Linked DNA regions of Homo sapiens: regions 2 and 3 are each linked to region 1. The links are contacts of gene promoters, found by promoter capture Hi-C in blood cells and fetal thymus (Javierre and others, 2016). All regions are on one chromosome and are shown on one strand. Each heading gives the region's core, a stretch centred on a gene start or on the middle of the fragment in contact. The rest is flanking DNA. Distances are from core to core; before and after follow the strand shown. Region 1 holds the start of MYBPHL (myosin binding protein H like). Region 2 overlaps SORT1 (sortilin 1). Region 3 overlaps SORT1 (sortilin 1).

Region 1 (3,798 bases), core at 723-3,222:
TGCATTGCACCCTGAAGGATCTTTGGTGGGGGTTTGGGGCTCTGTTGGCTCTCTGAACTTTTTTGTGTATTTTTCCAGGGGCAAGAGTCCACAGCTGGCATTAGATTTTCCTAGGGGTCCATATCCACCAAAAGGTTAAGACCCTGATTTGGTTCAACTCCTCAATTTACAGATGAGAAAATGGGAGTGGATTGACTTGCCTAGGGCCACAGAACAGAGCTAAGATTTGAACTCATGACTTCTTTGTTCCAAGTAGTTAACAGATGCACATATATTTTGCAAAGTATTCAAAGGTGTTCTTATTGCCAGTGACTTCTGGGATACCACTGGGTTGAGCCACTGGGTGCTAGTGGCCCTGAGGCCTGCAGTGTACAGAGCTGCTGCACACGAGAGGCTTTGGGCTGCATTTGCGGGCCCGTGACTGGGGGCTGTCAGGAGCTGGCTGCAGCCAGAGGGGAGAAGCATGGGGGAGATGAGCACTCTCCCTTGTGCTTTTGGGAAGACCAGTAGAGAGAGCTGAGGCGTCAGCAGTCCTGGCTCTCATTCTCCTGCTGCCTGTCACTTATTCTCTGGGCCTTTTAAGGGAAGAAACTGGTTTTCTGCCTCCATCACCCCAGCTTAATATATTTACACTAACTTTTGCTCCCTTCATCTTCAACGGGACAAACTTGGCCAGCTCTCTGCCCTTGACATTCAAATAGTTTCTGGAAACCTGGCCTCTCCCATGAGGATAAGAGGCAGACAGAGTCTGCTGCACAACCCTATGGAGGTAGAACGCAGCCTTCACCTCTCACTTGGAAATATTTGATCATTTATTTACATCTTAGTTTGGCCTCTTCCAAGGCACCCTGGATCATCTCAGCAATCCTTTCAACTACCCTGATAGGTAGATGTTATTAATCACCATTTTACAGAGTGAAAATGGAAACTGAGCAGTCCAGTGACTTGTCCAAGGTCACAGGGCTGTTAGAGGCGGCACTAGGAATTGAGCCTAGAGCTTTGCCTCCAAGTCTAGTATATCTTTTCCCCTGCCTCTTCCTGCCCTAGGAGTCCACGTGTTTCTTGATTGTGGTCTTTTCATCCTCTTAAGACTTTCAGGTGAGCGCCACGAAGTGGTTAGCTACAGAGGCCTCAGCCAGGGCATTCAGGGATGGGCGGCAGGAAGCTCGGGGTTGGAATTCCTCACTTGGGAACGCCTCTTTGCTGAGAGGCACACAGAGACCATCGTGAAGGGGAAATTGAATGCTTCTCCCAGGAGAGCTCCACTTCCGTGGAGCTCAGACTCTGAGGGGTCAGGATCTCCTATGGGAGCAGTGGGGGATTGGAGGAGGTCCTGACCCCGTGGTACTGCCCAGCAGGAGGCCGAGTGTCACTGTGCTGCCCCACTCTTAGCCTCCCCATTGCCATAGCATTTTATTTCCCTGTTCCTTCAGCAGACAGTCACTATCTCTTACCCCTCAGTCCCTTCCTGACTGGCCATTAGTATATCAGGTCTTCCCAGTCCCTATGACAATTTTTTAAAAGGTAAAAATATAAACAGATCATTTTTAGTCACTGTAAAGTGCCACCAACACCATCACTGACTTCTCAGCTAAAACACAAAAACTTAGCAGGGACATTTGAGCAGCAAGTTAGACTCCATCAAGGACAGGGGATGGGGGCTCTCACGAATGATCTCCAGCCTAATCACCAATCCTATAGAGTCTTTAGCTCTGCAGAAAACCTGAGGCGCCGTTCAGGAAGGTGGCGATGTCTTCCCCAACTCCCACCACCCGGCCTCCCCACCCTCCCCACCTGCCATGGGTCACCTTCTATAGGGGGCAGGAGCTGGGGAGTGGGGCTGCCAGCCCCCTGTCCAGGTGAAGCCTGGGGTGGTTCAGCATCCGCTGGGCTGGCTTCTTTCACCTTCAGCTTGGATCCTGCGGCCACCTCCGGAGCTGTGGCTGCCTCCATGCTGGGCCTTCCCAGAGGCTGAGCTCCAGCTCTAGATTTTCACTGCTGGTGATGAGGGAGGGGCTGAGCACCTGCTCCCAGGCTGGCCTCCCGGGTCCCAGCCACAGGGTTACGTAACTGGGCTGGCCCTCCCCACTCAGCTACGCCCAGCAGAAAGGCTGAAGTAGGGGTTGGGGGAGAGAGGAGGATCAGACAGCAGCCCAGAATAGCCCCAGGAGGACTGAGGTGTCCCTGTTATCTCGGGAGAGAGATGACACCCCCCACAGCACCAGGGAGGGAGAGCTTGAACACACCATCCAAAAGGGACCTCTAATTTCTGTAGGGAGGGTTGAGTGACATCTCTGCTCCTGACCTCCAGTTCATCCCGTGGGGCATTCAGGTCCCAAAGAAGGGGCCCAGGATTAGCTGACTCACAGCAACGCCTGAACTGCTCTTTCTCCCTCTGCTCCCACATTCAATGAATTGTAAAGTCTTATCAACTCGACCTTTACAGGGCCTGTCCCATCCTCCCCCGCTCCCCGGGGGCAGCGGGCACAGCGCAGTGGTAGGTGGAGACTGCACTCGCACTGGCTGCCCAGGTGCCACTTGGGGCTCTGTCACCAACTAGCTGTGTGACTCACAACACCTCACAGTCTCTCTTCAGTCTGTTTCCTCATCTGTAAAATGGAGATAATTATAACCATAGGGTCGTTGTGAGGATTAAAGAGGTAATCTCTGTAAAGTGCTTAGCAGAGTGTAGCCGACTAAGTGCTTGATAAATGTAAGCTATTTTTAGGTCAGGCCAGCACTTCCCCCTTTGAGAGCTGTCAATGGCTGCCTTGCCTATTAGATGAAGTACAAATAAAGGGAGAGGCAGCAGTGGTGGAGGGAGGCGAGCTCAGAGACCTGCGTGTGACTTCTGGCTGTACCACTCACTCACCAGCTGGGACTCTGGGCAAATGGCCGACTCGGAGTCTCAAGTCCCAGTCTATGAAACAAGGGATGATGCCATGATTGTGTTGAGGATAAAATGATACAATCTATAGGAAAGTGGCCAGCTCACAGCAGGTGCTAGTCACATACTACAGGTCCTACATGATTTCCAGACTTAGCAAACCATCTTTCTATACGTGTTGTACATGCCATGGACACTGCCACCTATCATACTCCTACCTTCTTATCTCCAGAAGCCAGCATCCCTCTGCATTTTAAAATGCTTTAATTTTAGAGCAGTTTGAGAGTCACGGCAAAGCTGAGTGGAAAGTATAGGGTTCCCACAGCCCCCTACTCACCCCTGTATTTTTTTCATGGAAAAAAAATGGGTGCAGTTGAACAAATGGACTGACTTCTTACTCATTTTTGCCTTCAATTTTGGGGTAATTGGTAAGATCCCAGGAGCCTGTGTTATCTTGGGGTGACAGAAGCTCAGCCTCTTTGTAACTGGTATAGGAGCTAAGGCCCAGGACAATCTGTTTATTGGGGCCTTGGATGGCCTATGGGGTTGATTTGGTTGGCAGAAGACTGGGTTTTTGCCATATCAGAACTAGCTTGAAGGTCTTTCTGAACTATTTTTCCTGCTTGACCCAGCCAAGGCCCCGTAAGTGTGGACAGTCTCCTAGCCAGGAGACCCCAAATACACCCCCTTTTACACAACACGTAACCCATCTTTTGGTGAGGAAATTGGCCCAGGCTGAGTCTTAGCCCTTTGTTGGAGCGAAGGTGTAAAGAATCAACTTTAAGATGCAGGTTCCTAAGGTTTGCCCATCAGAAAGTCTAATTCAATAGGTCTGGGGTGCTATCCAGAAATCTGCACCTAAAAAAACCAACCTAGTGACTCTGGCGCAGGAAATCTTGGAATACCATGTT
Region 2 (3,908 bases), core at 346-2,845, 34 kb after region 1:
CTCATGATCCACCTGCCTCAGCCTCCCAAAGTGCTGGGATTACAGGTGTGAGCCACCGCGCCCAGCGACTCTGATACTTTGCATGTGTACTTCCTTCAGCTGAAAATGCCCTTCCCTCCCCATTCCTGCCTATCATACTTAAGGCTCAGTCTTAAATGTTTTTCAAGTGTGTTCACTGTATGGTTTTGAGTGCAAGGCTGTTCAGCCGTTTATTTGTAGGCTCATTTGGCAAGTATTACTGAACATCTACTATGTGCAAAAATTGTCATAAGCACCAGAGGAGCATCAGTGAACACAACTTTAAAAATCACTGCCATCCATAGGACTCAATTAGAAGCTTCCTCAACGAAGATATTCACATGGCCAACGAGCATATAAAAAGTTGTTCAACATCTTTAGTCATTAGAGAAATGCAAATCAAAGCTATAAACGAGATAGTATTTCACTCCCATTAGGAGTGCTGTTACAAAAATAGGAGAATATAATGTGTTTGCAATGAAGTAGAGAAATTGGAATCCTTTTGTATTGCATGTAAAATGGTACAACCATGTGGAAAACCCATTGGTATTTCCTCCAAAAGAGAAACATGGAATTATCATGTGATCCTGCTATTTCACTCCTACATATATCCCCAAAGGAACTGAAAGCATTGACTTAAACAGTTACATGTATAACAATGTTCATGGCAGCATTCAGTATTCATAAGAGCTGAAAATGGAAACAGCCTAAGTGTCCATCAATGGAGGAATAAAAAACAGGCTGGGCATGGTGGCTCACGCCTGGAATCCCAGCACTTTGGGAGGCCAAGGCAGGCAGATCACCTGAGGTCAGGAGCTCGAGACCAACCTGGCCAACATGGTGAAACCCCATCTCTACTAAAAATACAAAAATTAGCTGGGTGTGGTGGCACACACCTGTAAACCCAGCTACTCAGGAGGCTGAGGCAGGAGAATCCCTTGAACTTGGGAGACCAAGGTTGCAGTGAGCTGAGATCACGCCACCGCACTCCAGTCTGGGCAACAGAGCGATTCCATCTCAAAAAAAAAAAAAAAAAAGAAAGAAAAAGAAAAAAAAGGTGCTATATTCAAACAAAGGAATATATTCTAGTCTTAAAAAGCAATAAGTGAAATTCTAAAACATGCTGCAATGTGGCTGAACTTTGAAACAATATGCAAAATGAAAGAAGCCAGACATACAACAACCAATAGTGTATGATTCTGCTTACATGAGCTACCTAGAATAGGCAAATTCATTGAGACATAAAATAGAATGTTGGTTACCAGAGCTGGGTGACTGGGTGGGGAACGAGGAGTGCTTGTGCACCTGGTGCAATTTCTATTTGGGATGATGAAAAAGCTCTGGAAATAGGGGTGATGGTTGTGCAACATTGTGACTGTGCTTAATGCTACTGAATTGTACCCTATACAATGTTAAAAACTGCAAATTTTGTTAGACATATTGCCACAATAAAAAAAAAAAAGGAAACAAAAAAATGTACATGGGTAGGCTTGTTGGCTTGGCAAGCAACATTACTAGGGGACAGGTTCCCCGAAGCCTCAAATCCTACCACATGCAGCTGAAGGCACAGTACACCACTGCGATGCCGAGACTCACCTTCGGAGAGCACGCTTGTTATGTAGACGCCGCGGAGGGAGGTCACGTTGGTAAAGTCCGTCTCTCCGCCTGTGGTAGTGTAGAGATGTCGGTCCAAAGACTTGGAATAGACAATGCCTCGATCATCTGAGGTAAAGATTGTGCCAAACCCAGTGTCTGAAATAGGCAAACAAACAAAAATACTAAGTCTTGGGTGGAACCAAAGAGAAAAACAATAGTCTAACCACACACGATTACCTGCCTGACCAAACACAGTAGCCAATTGTGTCTCTTCATGATGAAGACTCAGACCTGAGAATTAATCAAGGTTTGATACTCAAGATCTTTATGCCCATCTTTAATTCTAGTACCCAGCTTAGTGCCTGGAATATGGCAGATGCTGAGTTTGTTGAATAAATTAATCAGATGCTACAGAAAAACTCTTCCCAGATATATTTTGGTGGGAGAGGCCCTATGTTTAGTTTACATATTTTTAAATCTTTACACTCTAGAACAATGCTTCTCAAACTATCTGTAGTGAAGGATCAATTTGTAAGATTTCCAATATGTCACAAACTGATGCTATTGTAAAACATAATAAAAACTAATCATTAGAAAATGAAAAGGTAAACAAAATATATGCCCCTAAGTTTTTTTTTTTTGAGATGGAGTCTCGCTCTGTTGCCCAGGCTGGAGTGCAGTGGCACGATCTCAGCTCACTGCAAGCTCCACCTCCCGGGTTCATGCCATTCTCCTGCCTCAGCCTCCTGAGTAGCTGGGACTATAGGTGCTCGCCACCACGGCCAGCTAATTTTTTGTATTTTTTGTAGTAGAGATGGGGTTTCACTGTGTTAGCCATGACGGTCTCGATCTCCTGACCTCGTGATCTGCCCGCCTCAGCCTCCCAAAGTGCCAGGATTACAGGTGTGAGCCACTGCGCCCAGCCATAAACCCCTAATTTTTTGTCATTAGATCCAACAGACATAAAATTGCTTTGTCAAAAGGCTAGAAGAGTTTCCAAACTCTTGCTCTCAATTTCTGTACTTATCTGGTAACAGATAGTTTGCAAATCAGTACCAGTCTGCTGACCATTCTTTGAGCAGCTCTGCTCTAGAACACCTGAACATACACACAAGCTACCAAAACAAGTGGCATTTTTAACAGGGGCTACAGATGATCTCTAGGACAGAAAAATCAGTAGGGCACTAATAAATTTCTAGGGGTAAGAGGAAAACTCGACATGTAAAAATAAAAGCTGCTCAAAGCTTACATCTCTATGCTTTTAAGGGTAAGCCACTAAAAAGCTCTTACCTCCAGGTTCATCTACATGCATGAATACCATGTCATCATTTGCTGCCAGAATAGAATAGAACTGTTCCTGTCCCACGGAGGGGAGCTGGGCCATGCTCCATGTGTCCCCTTGATCTGTTGAAACGTGGATCCTTCTTGTTGTATCCTAGAACAGATGTCAATATTTATCTTTCTAATTTTCTGCCAAGATGCCATGGGCAGGGACATGAACAAGAATGTTTTAAATAACTACTATTATCCATTTCTCTACTGGGTACGATTGCTATGAATGAAAGGTCATAGTACCAATTACCAAAGCAATTTCTAGCCCCTAGCAAAGTTCTAGGTAAAGGAACAATCCATTCTATTCTAAGTAAGGCTATCTTGGCTTTCTCTTTGAATTCTTCATTCTGATGCGGCCCTGTAAGATAGTATAGTCTTGGTCTCTGATAGTCCACCTCCTTCAGTAGAGCTAAGGATTTGATGAGAACATTAGGTTGGCTTTATAGCCATTTGCATACACTCAGGTAATTCTTAAAATGATGACTACTGCATAAAAGTTTGGTCCCTTTCATACAGTGCTTGCATAATTTAAAGAATTATATACTTAAGGGTCTAGAAAATAGAGATGAAACCCATGTTTGGGAGATCACAAGGGAAGTCAAGATGTAACACGCCTTCTCTCTAAGGAAGTCTCTCAGAATAGCCAGGATGAAGGGAACAGGCATGGGCTGGAAAGAGGCCAAGGAGAGTCGGAAATTACTATAAGGAAACTGATTAGGGAGTATTTGGCTGACGAAAAGAGTCTGTTAAGAAAGCAATTAAAACTTAACTCTCTGATAAATAGCTTAACATCGCTACTAGATACAGTTAGCCTGAGCATGAGAATTAATGTCGGTGTTTCCTTAGATTAAATACTCTTTAAAGTTCAGTGATAAGTACATTTAACTTATTCAACTTATACCAACATGTCTCATTACTTTGAATCTTATTCTCATTACTGTAGGTAGAAACCAGAGTTCAAA
Region 3 (3,787 bases), core at 449-2,948, 50 kb after region 1:
AGCACAAGCTTTATGTATACAAGAATGAGTCTCACCTTTCCAGAGTTCTCAGGACCAATAGCCATGCCAAATTCAGTCCGAATAAAGGTGTTATTGATGAGATCTGTAATATCCTTAAAGTTCTTCCCATAATCCTCACTGAGAGGAAGAAAAAAAGGGCAAATTTAGGGTGCAGTGGTCATGGATATTACTGAGTTCCTACTCAGCTTTCATTCTCCCTTTCCACCAATCATGCTGAGAGACTCGGCTCACCCTGAATAGCCACATTCCTAGCTCCAGAGGTGCCCTGGTGAGTCCGAAGAACATTCCACCCGCCCCCCCCCCCACAAACCCACTCACCAGTGATGGGGGTTCAGGAATCGGGGAGTGACTCAGGATGAGCCAATGGGAGATAAAAGGTGGGTGGGAAATTTGGGGTCTTCTAGGAAGCACACTGCCTCCCACTTATGATAGCTACCTGATAAAATGGTCTATATTCCTTCAGACCAGCAGTTCTCAATCAGGGTGCTTTTGTCCCCCAAGAAACATTTGGTAATGTTTGCAGACTTTTTTTTTTTCCTTTGAGACAAGATCACACTCTGTTACCCAGGCTGGAGTGCAGTGATGCAATCTCAGCTCAGTGGTGCAATTCCCAGGCTCAAGTGATTCTCCAGCCTCAGCCTCCCGAGTAGCTGGAATTACAGGTCCGTGTCACCACGCCTGGCTAATTTTTGTATTTTAAGTAGAGACGGGGTTTCACCACATTGCTCAGGCTGGTCTTGACTCCCAAGCTCAAAGTGATCCGCCCGCCTCGGCCTCCCAAAGTGCTGGGATTACAGGCATGAGCCACTGTGCCCGGTCCTACAGACATTTTTGATTATCACAATGAAGGGCTGAGGTGCTACTGGCATTAAGTGGGTAGTGGCCAGCGATGTTGCCAAACATCCTACAAGGCACAGGACAGTCCCACAATAATAAAGAATTACCTGGCCCCAATGTCAAGAGTACTAAGGTTGAGAAACCCCAATGATGCAGTATGTGAACACACAGTAAAGACTGCTATCGTCATTCTGTCACAATGGGAGCACAGAGAAGGTAATTTCAGAATACCGAGAAGCAGAGCCTATGACACTGAATTGAATCGACCCTGAAGCCTGTCATTCCTCTGTACTTAGTTACAGAATCAACTATTCCCTTATTATTCAGGTTAGTTTAAGGTGAGATCTATGCAAAGTGCTCCCAAAGGCTTCTAACTAATCTATTAATCCACAGTAGTTATGAAAAAGCTGTAAATGAAGCTGTAGCAAGTTCTTGAAGTTTTTCCCCATAGAAGTTACCATCCCTAGGCAGAAGTCTGTAAGGCACTCAGTACATGAAATACAGCTAGGAAAAACAAACAAACTTAATCTCAACTCTCAGAGTTTCCAAGCTTTTTCCAAAAGTTCATTCCAACAATATCTTTGAGAAGTATTCGAATCCATGTTTAGATTCTGGAAAATAAAAGCAAAAATTCCATAGCTGTCTAACCCTGACAGGTTTAATACTATGTATAGCTCTCTTACACAATACAAAATGCTAAATCTTAATGTTCATTAAATTTAAGTATCCATCAATGAAGACTGCTGTGCACTGCAAATTTCTGCACACAGATAAATGTAATCTGCAGTGGTCTTCAATGATAGAATATAGTTATGTGTTGCATGAAGATGTTTTGGTTACCAATGGACTGTTTATATGATGGTGAGTCCAGATTATGAAACCATATTGTTACCATGCCTTTTCTATGTTTAAATATACAGATACTTAGTACTGTGTTACAGCTGCCTACAGTATTCAGTACAGTAACATGCTCTACAGGTTTGTTGCCTAGGAACAAGAAGTTATACCATATAGCTGTGGTGTGTAGCAGGCTATACTGTCCAGGTGTGAGTAAGTACACTCTGTGATGTTTGCACAATAATGAAATCACCTAATGATGCACTTCGCAGAATGTATCCCCATCATTAAGCGAAGCTTGAATGTACATGATGTAAATGATGTTACAGGTTTTGGTAGCGGCCTCAACAAATAAAGAATTGCAGAACCATGAGCAGTGTAAGGGGCTGAAGTGAACATCTTGTCCAACTCCCTCATTTCACAGATGAGGAGTTGCAAGGGAAGGCAATTTATCAAAAGTCAACTAGTTAATTAAGGGCAAAATTGAAACTATAGTCCAATTCTCTGAACCTTTAGCCCTAAACTGGAGATAACTTTTAATTATCTGTGAGGATTTTTTCCCTTACAAACTGGGGTCTTCCTCTGTCTTGCTGGGGGCTTATGACCTGGCAGAAGAGATCAGCTAAGAGAAAGTTGGAGACAGAAGGGAAGTATCCATGTGTGTATGTAGAGGTCCCTGATAATATGCTGAAACAAACTACATATGTCTAAGTTGTCTGAATGACTCTATCCTTCCTTAAGTACATACACACACACAGAAAATTCCTAGATAAATGAAATACAATTGGGCGCCACCCAACAGAGTCCTATATTATATTACCCTTTCTTTGGCTTTGCAGTAGATCAGCTCTTATCTTCCTGACAGCTGGCCAAGAGATGTGCATAAACAATTCCCAGCTCTACAGTGCATGTATCATCAACAGCTCTGTAAATCTTCCAAAGGGGTTGAAGCAGCCTGATTAGTACTAGTTTACAAATTGGTCCTCCTTCATGACATCCCCAGAGAATCTCCACAAACCTGTTGGCAAGCCTGCTTGCTTTTTAAGAACTTGGCACAACAAACACATCCCTGCCCTTCAAAAAAAGAAACCAGCATGAGCAAAACAAAAAATCACCTGCTACAGCACTCTGGTACTTTAGTCAGTTAAATAAATGGAGAAAATGAACTAGTATCAACCTGCTGGGACTTAAGTAGGGTTCTAGCAAGGCCACTTTGGGCCCAGGGGTATATTTTTTAACATAATGCTTTATTTAAATGTAGCTTTATTTTCTATCAGCATACATATCATGAAGATATGTATGGTCTCAAACTCCTGGCCTCAAGCAATCTTCCCACCTTGGCCTCCCAAAGCTCTAGAATTAGAGGCGTGATCCTAGCACTTTATTTTCTATCAGCCTATGTCACGAAGAGGAAATTGATGAAGCAACTTTGATAAATCTAATTTTCAAATTCCATATGATAATTAATAGCGTTATGAACAGCCGTCGAATGATAAGTAAACAGTTAAAATGCTGTGAAACCAACTGCTTTAGAAACAAGTCTTTTTGGCCGGGCGTGGTGGCTCATGCCTGTAATCCCAGCACTTTGGGAGGCCAAGGCAGGTGGATCACAAGGTCAGGAGTTCAAGACCAGCCTGGCCAAGATGGTGAAACCCTGTCTCTACTAAAAACACAAAAATTAGCCAGGCATGGTGGCACGCGCCTGAAATCCCTGCTACTCAGGAGGCTGAGGCAGAGAATTGCTTGACCCCGGGAGGCAGAGGTTGCAGTGAGCCGAGATCGTGCCACTGCACTGCAGCCTGGGCGACAGAGTGAGACTCCGTCTTAAAAAAAAAAAAAAAAAGAAACAAGTCTTTTTAATAACAATTCTATGCATCAACACTAATATCCATTTTCTGGTTACCAAAAATAAATGATCATTTTTGCATGTATCCACGGTGTAAACATGCACATGTTTATAACTCAAGAAAATAATGCTAAAATACAAATATATTTGGAATAGAGCTTATTTTAGCTAGGGCTGCTATAAAAGAATATTATAAACTGGGTGGCTTATAAACAGCAGAAATTCATTTCTCACTGTTCTGGAGGC

What was found. The method cuts DNA at HindIII sites, captures the fragments that hold promoters and counts their contacts. A CHiCAGO score of 5 or more calls a contact.
Region 2: a contact is called between a fragment that was not itself captured here and the fragment with the promoter of MYBPHL in region 1, in 1 of 17 cell types (M2 macrophages). The highest score is 5.5, in M2 macrophages.
Region 3: a fragment that was not itself captured here is called in contact with the fragment with the promoter of MYBPHL in region 1 in 1 of 17 cell types (M1 macrophages); the score reaches 5.3 in M1 macrophages.

Annotation. Positions count from the first base shown.
Region 1 is chr1:109,305,039-109,308,836 of GRCh38, forward strand. It overlaps MYBPHL (myosin binding protein H like), which reads right to left and starts at 1,973. Exons shown (of 9, transcript NM_001010985.3): 1 at 1,809-1,973. The coding sequence starts at 1,953. RefSeq lists enhancers at 1,491-2,230, 2,231-2,969. The HindIII fragment of the contact is 12,327 bases long and covers 1-3,798 here.
Region 2 is chr1:109,339,110-109,343,017 of GRCh38, forward strand. SORT1 (sortilin 1) reads right to left here. Exons shown (of 20, transcript NM_002959.7): 9 at 2,905-3,049; 10 at 1,615-1,770. Among named protein-coding and RNA genes, the nearest start is that of MYBPHL, 34 kb to the left of the region's middle. The HindIII fragment of the contact is 2,521 bases long and covers 336-2,856 here.
Region 3 is chr1:109,355,332-109,359,118 of GRCh38, forward strand. It overlaps SORT1 (sortilin 1), which reads right to left. Exons shown (of 20, transcript NM_002959.7): 4 at 36-138. Among named protein-coding and RNA genes, the nearest start is that of SORT1, 41 kb to the right of the region's middle. The HindIII fragment of the contact is 584 bases long and covers 1,407-1,990 here.